Regions from separate parts of the Homo sapiens genome. Here regions 2 and 3 are each linked to region 1. The links are contacts of gene promoters, found by promoter capture Hi-C in blood cells and fetal thymus (Javierre and others, 2016). All regions are on one chromosome and are shown on one strand. Each heading gives the region's core, a stretch centred on a gene start or on the middle of the fragment in contact. The rest is flanking DNA. Distances are from core to core; before and after follow the strand shown. Region 1 holds the start of FAM114A2 (family with sequence similarity 114 member A2). Region 2 has its middle 2.6 kb from the start of CLINT1. Region 3 overlaps LSM11 (LSM11, U7 small nuclear RNA associated).

Region 1 (3,406 bases), core at 512-3,011:
ATGAGGGTACAGCCAAAGGCCTGAGGTCTGACAGTATGGAACATGGACAGTTACAGTAGGGAGTAGTTACCATGGCAGAGAGAAGAACAATGGGAAGGCATGAAGCTAGAAAGGTAGATTAAGACAACACTATGGAGTTCAGAATATATGGGCATATAATATAAACACATTACACATTTCCAAAACACATAGAGAAAAAATCCAGATACAACTACTCACTGACATACAAACCAACTTAGAAGTAGCCATTCATTCACTCGCAAACATTTTTTGAGTACCTACTACGTACCAAGTAGTACCACAGTACCTGTGGAGATAGAGAACTAATGTAAGCCATTCACTCCAAGGGCCTATCTAATAGGAAAGACGAGACAGTTTTTGCACAAAGTTCAATTAATGTTTTGTGTATATGAATAAATGTTTCCTATCTTTTCCTTATGCTCTCTCCAGGTTGCAACGCATCATTATCATCATCATAAATATATACAGTATACTATATGTAGAATATATAATATACATATTACATAAATTCATATAATTCCATGAAAGACTGGAAGGACATACTCCAAAATATATTTTTAAAGACAGGGTCTCGCTATGTTGGCCAGGTTGGTCTTGAACCCTAGGCCTGGCCTCAAGCAATCTTCCCCTGCCTCAGCCTCCCAAAGTGCTAAAATTACAGGCGTGAGCCACCATGCCCTGCCAAAACAGTCCCTTTACTAAAATATTAAACACTGGTTATCTCTATTCTTTCATTTGTGCCAGATATTTGAGCTAAGCCAGAAGAGAATTTTTTATGGTGATGGTTGTTTATATTATCATTACTATCGTTATTAGAATGACTGTACCATCTCTTTCCTCAACTCATTCATAATCTAGGAGAAAGGTTAAAAAAAAAAAAGGAATAAACACCAAGTACGTGGAACTGCACTATTTAGTGTTTTTGTAAGTCTTCCAGGCATTGTGTAGTAAGCGTGTAGAAATAATTGTAGTTTCTCCTCCAGTTATTTTCTCAGTTGGAGGAGAAAGATTCCAATAACTGTAAATAAATACGGCTGAGCCATATTTTTAAGAAATAAAAACGCATACGCTTACACACACACATATATATTACGTATATATACACTCCACCCGCCCCATTTACCAAAATGAAGAGCAGTACAGCTTAGTAGCTAAGAGCACGGGCTCTGGAGTTTACTTTCTTCCTGTCCTGCAGCGATTGTGGGGAAGTCAGGTCACCTGTCTGCCTCTCCGTTTCCTCATCTGTCAAATGGAGTTCTGGGTCCCTATAAAGATTCAGTGACGCGATATGTGAGGGGCTTGGAACAGTGACCGGCACGTAACCGCCCACAGGTTAACAGCTGCTATCACTTGGTGGGGTGATGGTTTGTATCCTATCGTTATTAATACGGCTGTCTCTAGATGAGCAAACATGCGCTCTCACTTCTTCCCACATTCAAGAATGGGGTCCCAAACGAGAGATTCGACGTAAACGTCCGCTCCCAACTAAGTTCTCAGGCGCTGACAACGACAAGAATTCCTCACACAAACGTAGCGCTTCAATCACTAAACCGCTTTCACAGCCCTCGACCCTGCCGCGAGATGTCCGCCGCCCACCGTCAGGTCACCGCCTCCCTAACGACTTCGGCTGCCCGGGCCCTGCCCCTGAACCTCGCACCCCTCCTGCCTCGTTCAGGAAGCTCCGCACCTATCCGGCCGCCACCCTCAGCACAGCCACGGCAGCCGACTCGGCGTTCCTACTGCCCCGGAAGTGCTCCTTCAGCGCAGAGGCGTGCCGGTGTGTCCGAGAAAACTTCCGAGTTAAGCCGCCGCTGAGGCCGGAAGGAGCTAGACGGCGGTCGGGTAGGTGACGGCTTGGTTGGGGTCGCTGCGAGGGGACTACTAGGAGCGCCGAGGCGTGAGTCGTAGCCTGTGGCTTGGGGTCGGGAGTGCAGGAGGCGAAAATGTTTGCCATTCTTTTGAAAGTCTGGCCTGGGTGTGGGAGTTCGGTCATCGAACACTTACTGAGAGCCAGATACCTGCCAGGCACTGCCCTGGGCTCCAGGGACACATCAGTCAACGAACGGAAGGGCCCTGCTCTCAAGCAGTGCGAAAAGCAGATTATAAACAAGTCAACAAACGGGATTATCTAAGGTGGTAGTAAGTGCTGTAAAGAAATTTAGACTGGATAATGTGATGGAACGAAGTGGGAGAGTAATAAGCCGTATGAAAATCTGGAATAGAGCATTCCAGGCAGAGAGAATAGCGCGTGCAAAGGCCATATAGTGGGAACAAACTTAGCAAAGTCAAGGAAAAGACAAAGGCCACTGGCTAGAGCAAAAGGAGCAAGGTGAGAATGGAGAGAGATGAGGCCAGGGACTTGAGCCCAAATCTTGTAAGGCTTATGAGCAAGGATAAAGAGTTTGATTTTTGTTTGGAATCCAGTGGAAAACCATTGAAGGTTTCTAAGCAGATGAATGACATGATCTGATTTATGACTCTAAGATTACTCCTGGGACCTCATCAGAAAGATGCAACTCTTCTGTTGCCCTCGAGCAGTGAAAATGCATGAAATCCAGACTGACAGAGCTAGTAAAATATTAAAATCAATCTTATTGTACAGATAAGAAAAACTGAATCCCAGAGAGGTGAAGGGACTTAGCCTTTAAGAACTCATGTTTTCCAACTCCATTTAATGCCCTCGGAATTATCATCTTAATTCCCAGATAAGAGTAATTGTCACTTCTAAAACTCTTCAGATATTTTCCTTTGCTTTTGACAGTGGTTCTCTAAATTTAGGTTCATCAATATCACCTGGAAGCTTGTTAAAATTCCAAAAAACAACAACAAAAAAACCCCTGCTTAAATATAAAATGGATCATTTCCTCTGATTTTCTGTTGTAATGGAAAATGCATAGAATTTGGGGCTAAAGTATGGAATCTTGGGAAGCCACTTATTTTTTAAATGCTGCTGATAATTATAGCAGCAGTTCTCAAACTTTTTGATCTTAGAATTTCTTTATACTTTTAAAATGTATTGAGAACTTCAAAGGGTTTTTGTTTATAATAGCTATCAATATTTACTATTTTAGAAAACAACTTTCAACAAAGGTTATTCATTTTAAAATAAACTCATTATATGTTAACATAGATAGCATTTCTGTAAAGGATATTTTCCAAAATGAAAAATTATTGAGAATGGCATTGTTTTACATTGTTACAAATCTCTTTAATGTCTGGCTGAATAAAAGACAGCTAGATTTTCGTAACTTCTACCTTCATTCTCTTACAATATCAATCATCATGTAACTTTTAGAAAATTGTGCCATATTGTGTGAGAATGTGAGTGAAAAAGGGATATGTCCTAATATTATGTAAATTGTTTTGAAACAGTGTCAGGGACACC
Region 2 (3,406 bases), core at 516-3,015, 3.8 Mb after region 1:
AACGTAATTGGAAGAAACATATAATAATCAAGGAAACATTTAAGATAATTGCATATAGTGTAATTGCTTAGCGGGTTCTTTCTGCCCACTTTACAGATAAAGTCAATTCACTGCGACCAAGTCATTGCAGTGAAGAGTTTGACATGAGGCTGGCCATGCCACTTGAGAGACAGAGTTATTACTCAAATCAATCTTCCTGAACATTTGGAAGCTAGAGTTTTTCAAAGATAGTTTGGTGAGCAGAGGGTTAGGGCATGGGTGCTGCTGATTGGTTAGGGATGCAATCAGAGGAGTATGGAAAATGGTTCTCCTTTGCTGAATCGGCTTCTTGATGGAGGGCCAGCAGAGGAGTGGCTGGTCTGGGTGGGGTCATCCGTTTGTCAGAAATGCAAAAGCCTGAAAAGACGTCTTAAAAGGCCAATCTTAGGTTCTACAATAGTTCATTACAGGCCAGGCACAGTGGCTCACGCCTGTTATCCCAGCATTTTGGGAGGCTGGGAGGCCAAGGCAGGAGGATCACTTGAGCCCAGGAGTTTGAGACCAGCCTGGGCAGCAAAGTGAGATCCCCCTGCCAGCCCAGTCTTTAAAAAAAAAAAAAAAAAAAAAAAAAAAGCCAGGCGTTGGGGCACACTCTTGTGAGGCCAGCTACTTAGGAGGTTGAAATGGAAGGATCCCTCGAAAGGATCAAATAAAGACTCCAATTCACAAAGAAGTGAAATTGATGGTTGCTAGTCATGAAGCTAGGTAACAATAATCCCAAATAAACAACCTCGGACCCTGGTCCCTCAAGTGAAACCACCTCTTTTCTATTTTCTTTTTCTTTTTCTTTTTTTTTTTTTTTGAGCTGGAGGTCTCACTCTGTTGCCCCAGCTGATCTGAAACTCCTGGGCTCAAGCAATCCTCCCACCTCAGTCTCTCAAGTAGCTGAGACTACAGGAAACCCTCTCCAAGTTGCATTCACTTAATTACCGAAAGCAGCTTTGAAAAAAGTTTCAGTAAGGCTTTCGGATTGAGGCCCCAAGAGAAAGAAGCAAGGTTGAAGGAATTGACAGGCAGAAAATTACAACAAGCAGAAATCCAAAGTTATCTCAGAGCTTTGTAATGGTAGGAGTACTTGGGCTGATATGAAGTGAGTTGGAGAGGTGGGTGGGGAGAGGCAGGTAAAGATGAGCAGAGATGGGTAGAGGAATAGGGCTTTCAAATAAGAAGTTTGTGTTTTTTTGTTGAAAAGACTATCCAGCTCAAGATCCCAGAGATGGAATGTGGCCAGAGGAGATAAGAAAGAGAAACTACTTTGCATAAATAAGAGCTCAGCAAGTTAACTTTCAAACAAGTGAGTCCAGAGTACACCTGCAGAACGGGCCTGGCCCAGAAACAACCACCTTCCCTCCCCTGGGCCTGTTTGGGTGTTCACAGCAGGGCACTGTCAGCCTCTTTGCTCATTCCAAAACCAAGTTTGCATACGTCTAGACCCATCCTAGAGTTGTCACCTGTGACATTTGCACAGTCAGCTGGAGCCATCTGGAATGTAAAGCCAAAAAATCTGCCTGTCCGCTTCTAATTCAAGAGAGCCTTTAAAGGACTCAGAAAAATCAGACCCGGAGACTTTGTTAAAAAGTGATCTCCAGAGACTATTTGCATTTCAACAAAGTGTTCCATTTTTACCTTTTATCTTGCAAGTTCGAGAGCAGTTTCCATAGTAACTTCTTTGTGGCAATTCAAATATGTTCATGGTAGAAAAATAAATGAGAAAATGCTCCACCCACTCTTCTTCAGGAAAACATATATTTTTTACTAAATGAGCTGACACTTTTAGTAAGGCCAAACCAACACACGTTTTGAAGGAAAAAAAAAAAAAAAAGGCCGGATGTGGTGGCTCACGCCTGTAATCCCAGCACTTTGAGAGGCCAAGGTGGGTGGATCACCGGAGGTCGGGAGTTCGAGACCAGCCTGACCAATATGAAGAAACCCTGTCTCTACTAAAAATACAAAATTAGCTGGGCGTGGTGGCGCATGCCTGTAATCCCAGTTACTCGGGGGGCTGAGGCAGGAGAATCGCTTGAACCCGGGAGGTGGAGGTTGCAGTGAGCTGAGATCGCATACGAAACTCATCTCAAAAAAAATATATATATACATATATACTCAGTTATGTTAATGATGTGTGTTGTGAGAAGCAGTGTAGACAATGGACACTGACTGCTTATTTCATGCGGTCACCTCCCTAGAGTTCCCTTGGGGGAGTTTAATTCATGGTACATGGGTATGGCAGCCATGGAAAAGCACCATTCAGACCTACTTTCAAGAGAACCAGTTGCAAGGAGTGTGGTTGACTGACAGCTTCCTGCTGTCTTCCTCTGGGATCATTTATGCCAACGGCATACTCTCTGTAGGGCTATTCCCAGCAATGACTGAGAAAGGTGTGCTGGAGCCAGGCCATTTCTGCCCAGTGCTGGACTCCTTCACCGGGCAATCATTGACCTGGGCTTCCCATCGACTTGGCCCAGATTTCCTCAAAGCCTTGCTGCAATCAGATACTCTTCCTACCCAATCTTCCTTCCTTCCTTCTCTTCCTTGACAGGTGTCAGAACTTCCTTGTGGTCTCAGACCCTTACCACCTGCTCTTGCTCTCGCTTCCCTTTTTCCTTCATAGGCATTTCCCCTAATATATCTTATACTTCTAATTCCATCTTGGCTTCTGTTTCCTGTAGTACTCAAACTGACACAGCAGGTGAACATTTGCACCTTGGTTTCAGTATTTGGACTCACGAGTCTTGTTTTTGATCACACCTGACTGTTCATCTCCAGAGGTCAGAATATTGGTTTCTTTCTTTCTTTTTTTTTTTTTTTGAGATGGAGTCTCGCTCTGTCACCCAGGCTGGAGTGAAGTGGTGCAATCTTGGCTCACTGCAACCTCCGCCTCCTGGGTTCAAGCAATTCTCCTGTCTCAGCCTCCCGAGTAGCTGGGATTACAGGCATCTGCCACCAAGCCCAGCTAGTTTTTTGTATCTTTAGTAAAGACAGGGTTTCACCATGTTGGTCAGGCTGGTCTTGAACTCCTGACCTCAGGTGATCCACCCGCCTCGGCCTCCCAAAGTGCTGGGATTACAGGTGTGAGCCACTGCTCCTGGCCAGTTTTTTTTTTGTATTTTTAGTGGAGACAGGGTTTCACCATGTTGGCCAGGCTGGTCTTGAACTCCTGACCTCAGGTGGTCCACCTGCCTCGGCCTCCCAAAGTGCTGGGATTACAGGCGTGAGCCACTGCACCCAGCTGTAACCACATTTTCTATTAGGCATCCAAGGGAGAAGAGGAACTTTGGTCTTTCATCCACTGACTCTGACATCTCAAAAGATAACTCTGATTGGCCCAGTTTGGACCATATGCCTATCTTGGGTCCTATCACCTCTA
Region 3 (3,406 bases), core at 325-2,824, 3.7 Mb after region 1:
AAGCATCTGTATCCTGATAATTAAATTGTTACCTTATTAAGTCACTGTCTTTTGGATGGAGAGGTGTGCCAAGCAAGGGACTGTTTTGCTTCATTCCTAGAAATTTGTTTATTAAGAGAGAACATCCTGAAACGCTCTGTGCTGTTCCGTGTGCCTTCGTTGGATGTCTTACCATGCCACAGCATCCCTGCCCAAGCTAGGATTTACCCCGGCCTGCTTGCCTGGCTGTAACACAAAGACAGTATGCTTGTTCCCAAAATGAGAGCAGTTTGGGGGACCTTAATTTGCCTATGCAATTTGCCACCATTAGGTAGTTGAAATGCACTCCAAGTCTCATTGCAACATTTATTTCTATTTTACCAGTTATTGCTTTGCTACCAAGATTGTCAAGGGAAAGGAATATTCCTGTGTATTGCTATGTGGTGGGTGGTTTTAGCTTTCCCTATAGAGCACTTTACTGTAATGGTATGACAGTGTGTGAAGACCAGCTTTGTCAACTTCTTATGATTAAGTATATATCCCTGGAATCAAGATCTCAGAGAATATGCCCTACATACTGAAAATTTTCACCATGGCACTGCAGACAGTTGAGTGTACATGAGAGAAAGGCATTGACGTCGCACAGAGTTGATGACCTTCAGAAAGCAAGAAAACAACAGAAACATGGGTGAGGATTGGATTCATTCAAGAAAGAGTTCCTACTTGAGGGTGAAGGGTGGGAGGAGGGTGAGAATCACAAAACTACCTATTGGGTACTGTGATCACTACCTGGGTGACAAAATAATTTGTGCACCAAACCCCAGTGACACACGATTTACACCTGCAACAAACCTTTCGTGTACCTCCTGATCCAAAAACAAAAGTTGGAAGGGGGGAAAAAAAAGAACTAGGTATGTTTTATATGTATGCCACAGTTTTAATTTAAAAAAATATATGCCTACTCTAAACTCTGATTGGATACAGTTGCTCAGGAAAATCAAAATATAGATACCAGTAAGATAATACTATTTGTGGACATATACAAATGCTTTCTGGAAAAAAATGCCTATGCATTTGAGAATGCATAATCCTTTGCAAAATATTCACATAAAATGTAAGTTCCATCAGGCTGTAACAGCAAGAAGAAGCTTTGTTAGGTCATATCATCAGTGAAACATAATGAAGAATACATGAGGAGCTACATTTTGTCGCTGACTTTAAAATGATGTATTTCATCAATTCAGATCCAAGTTACCCATCCAAATTCACAGAGAGGACAGTGTGGAATGTTTATGAAAAAACAAGGAGTGCAAAATTAAGTGTAATGGTGTTTTAACTGTAAAATATTTCACTTTGTATCTCTGTCATAGAATCTCTTTGAATTCCCTTGTGGAGCAGTTGTATTCTTTTCCTTGCAGTAATAAAATTTTAAAAGTAGCCAGGCACAGTGGCTCACACCTGTAATCCCAGCACTTTGGGAGGCCGAGGCGGGCAGAACACTTGAGGCCAGGAGTTCAAGACCAGCCTGGCCAACGTGGTGAAACCCTGTCTCTACTAAAAATACAAAAATTAGTTGGGCATGGCAGCATCTGCCTCTAGTTCCAGCTGTTCAGGAGGATGAGGCACGAGAATCGCTTGAACCCTGTAAGTGGAAGCTGCAGTGAGCCGAGATCATAGGGACATCATAGAGACCTCTACAGAGGTGATACGAGGTCTCAAAAAAAAGTAATAATAAAAGTATAGGAGGCTGTTGCAATACTGGGAATACTAAAGAAGAAAAAAAGCATAGGAGGAAAGGTTTTTCGTCATCATTAAGCCTAAGCCATCACTGATACCAACAAAGAACTCACACACAAGCTGTACTTGCAAGTGGAATGCAATTGCTTTTCCTCCTTTTTAATATTGACATGCCTATAGAGATGGTAAGACAAGACTAAAGAGCATTATCCTCTTTTCCACATAATTCTAGTGTCTATATTTCTCCTTAGTATCGCAGCACCATACCTAGCCCACGGTGGTTCTGGTTTATAATTGTGCTTCAAGCAAGCTTTTTCTAGGTATATCTGTCACTGTGAAATGAACTGGTGTGTTCAAGCTCACGTCTTGACATTATAAAGCTGTAAGAAAAAGTGTTATCATTACTTTGTTTTAGCTACAGGTGTGTTGGTGTGCAGCCTGTGCCGGTGTGAACAAGTGTGTGTGGTCAATCCAAAATGCATATGACATGCAGGGTTTGGCTCCTAGACCATTGTCTAGGTGAATGGCTTGTCTCCAGTTCCAAATTCAGTTTTCCTGCAGGGAGCCTACACAGTCCTTTTACTCGCACACATCCTGCTGAGAAGGATTTCAAAACAAACCTGATTTATTGGGCCTCTGACGTGATACCATGATTGAAAATTTGTTTGAGTCCTGTTGTTGTAGTTTACTTTGATTGCTGAAATAATTTCCCACAATATGGTGTCTTGATGTTTTCATTTTAATAAAGTGATATTCTTTGGATAACTTTGACTTCACTTCCTGCAAATAAAGAGCAAGAAAATAGGCAAAATCAAGAACATCTGAGCCCTGTGTACAGCAGTAAAATGAACTCTCAAATTTGAACAGCATCTCTGTTACACAGAGGTTGCCAAAAGGGCATGAGTATGACTTACATAAAACCGAGAACAGCGGTACTTAGGCTTCAGAAAAGGCCAAGCTTAAAATTCAGCCTTGTCACTTTTCTCAGCTCATTGCAGCTGTTTCCAGTCAGCTGTCTCCAGTGCAACTAAGGAATAGTCTCAGATGATTTCTGCACCACACTGCTGTGTGTGTGTGTGTGTGTGTGTGTGTGTGTGTGTTTAGGCCAGTTTGACATAGCATCACAATAGGGAAGACACTGATGTGCCTTTGCCGGGTCACTGATTCAAACATTGTACTTTCAATCTGTCATGGCACCCTTCTATAGAATGGCAACTAAAACTATTTTCAGAGAAAAGAGAAAATATTTTTCCATTGCAGACTCATAAGGTGACTGTTACAGTTTGTGGTTTCATTTCTCTGGGCCCTTAATAGGTTATGGAATCTGGGGAGCTGCCTTTGCCCTAATGAGCTAATAACTTTGTATATTTGGAGATATATATGTAGATACAGTTTTGTCCTTAAATCTTTGAATAGGTAGTTGTGGAGGCTAAAGCAACTCCATCTTGAATGCCAGTCCACCATGTTGACTTCTGATTAAACCCAGTTCTGGGAAGGCCTCTAAGATTTCCAATTTATCTGTTGTTTCTTGTGTAAGAGCATGTACTTACTGTAATTCCTGTCCTTACATGAGAACAACCTTGACGTTATCTTACTTCAATTGTCCTACACATCCCTTCTGAATCACCCTTTCCCTGTAGCATATAAGCCCTGCATCTGGGGGTCATGGCACGGGGATCCACCATCTTGT

What was found. Contacts are between HindIII fragments. The CHiCAGO score rates a contact against its expected background, and 5 or more counts as called.
Region 2: a fragment that was not itself captured here is called in contact with the fragment with the promoter of FAM114A2 in region 1 in 2 of 17 cell types (naive CD8 T cells and non-activated CD4 T cells); the score reaches 5.8 in naive CD8 T cells.
Region 3: a fragment that was not itself captured here is called in contact with the fragment with the promoter of FAM114A2 in region 1 in 2 of 17 cell types (non-activated CD4 T cells and naive CD8 T cells); the score reaches 7.2 in non-activated CD4 T cells.

What each region holds. Positions count from the first base shown.
Region 1 is chr5:154,037,149-154,040,554 of GRCh38, forward strand. FAM114A2 (family with sequence similarity 114 member A2) reads right to left here and starts at 1,762. Exons shown (of 14, transcript NM_018691.4): 1 at 1,709-1,762. MFAP3 (microfibril associated protein 3) reads left to right here and starts at 1,819. Exons shown (of 3, transcript NM_005927.5): 1 at 1,819-1,863. The HindIII fragment of the contact is 2,878 bases long and covers 1-2,819 here.
Region 2 is chr5:157,860,050-157,863,455 of GRCh38, forward strand. No RefSeq gene overlaps it. Among named protein-coding and RNA genes, the nearest start is that of CLINT1, 2.6 kb to the left of the region's middle. The HindIII fragment of the contact is 5,007 bases long and covers 1-3,406 here.
Region 3 is chr5:157,745,213-157,748,618 of GRCh38, forward strand. All of the region lies in intron 1 of LSM11 (LSM11, U7 small nuclear RNA associated), which reads left to right. Among named protein-coding and RNA genes, the nearest start is that of LSM11, 3.2 kb to the left of the region's middle. The HindIII fragment of the contact is 899 bases long and covers 1,126-2,024 here.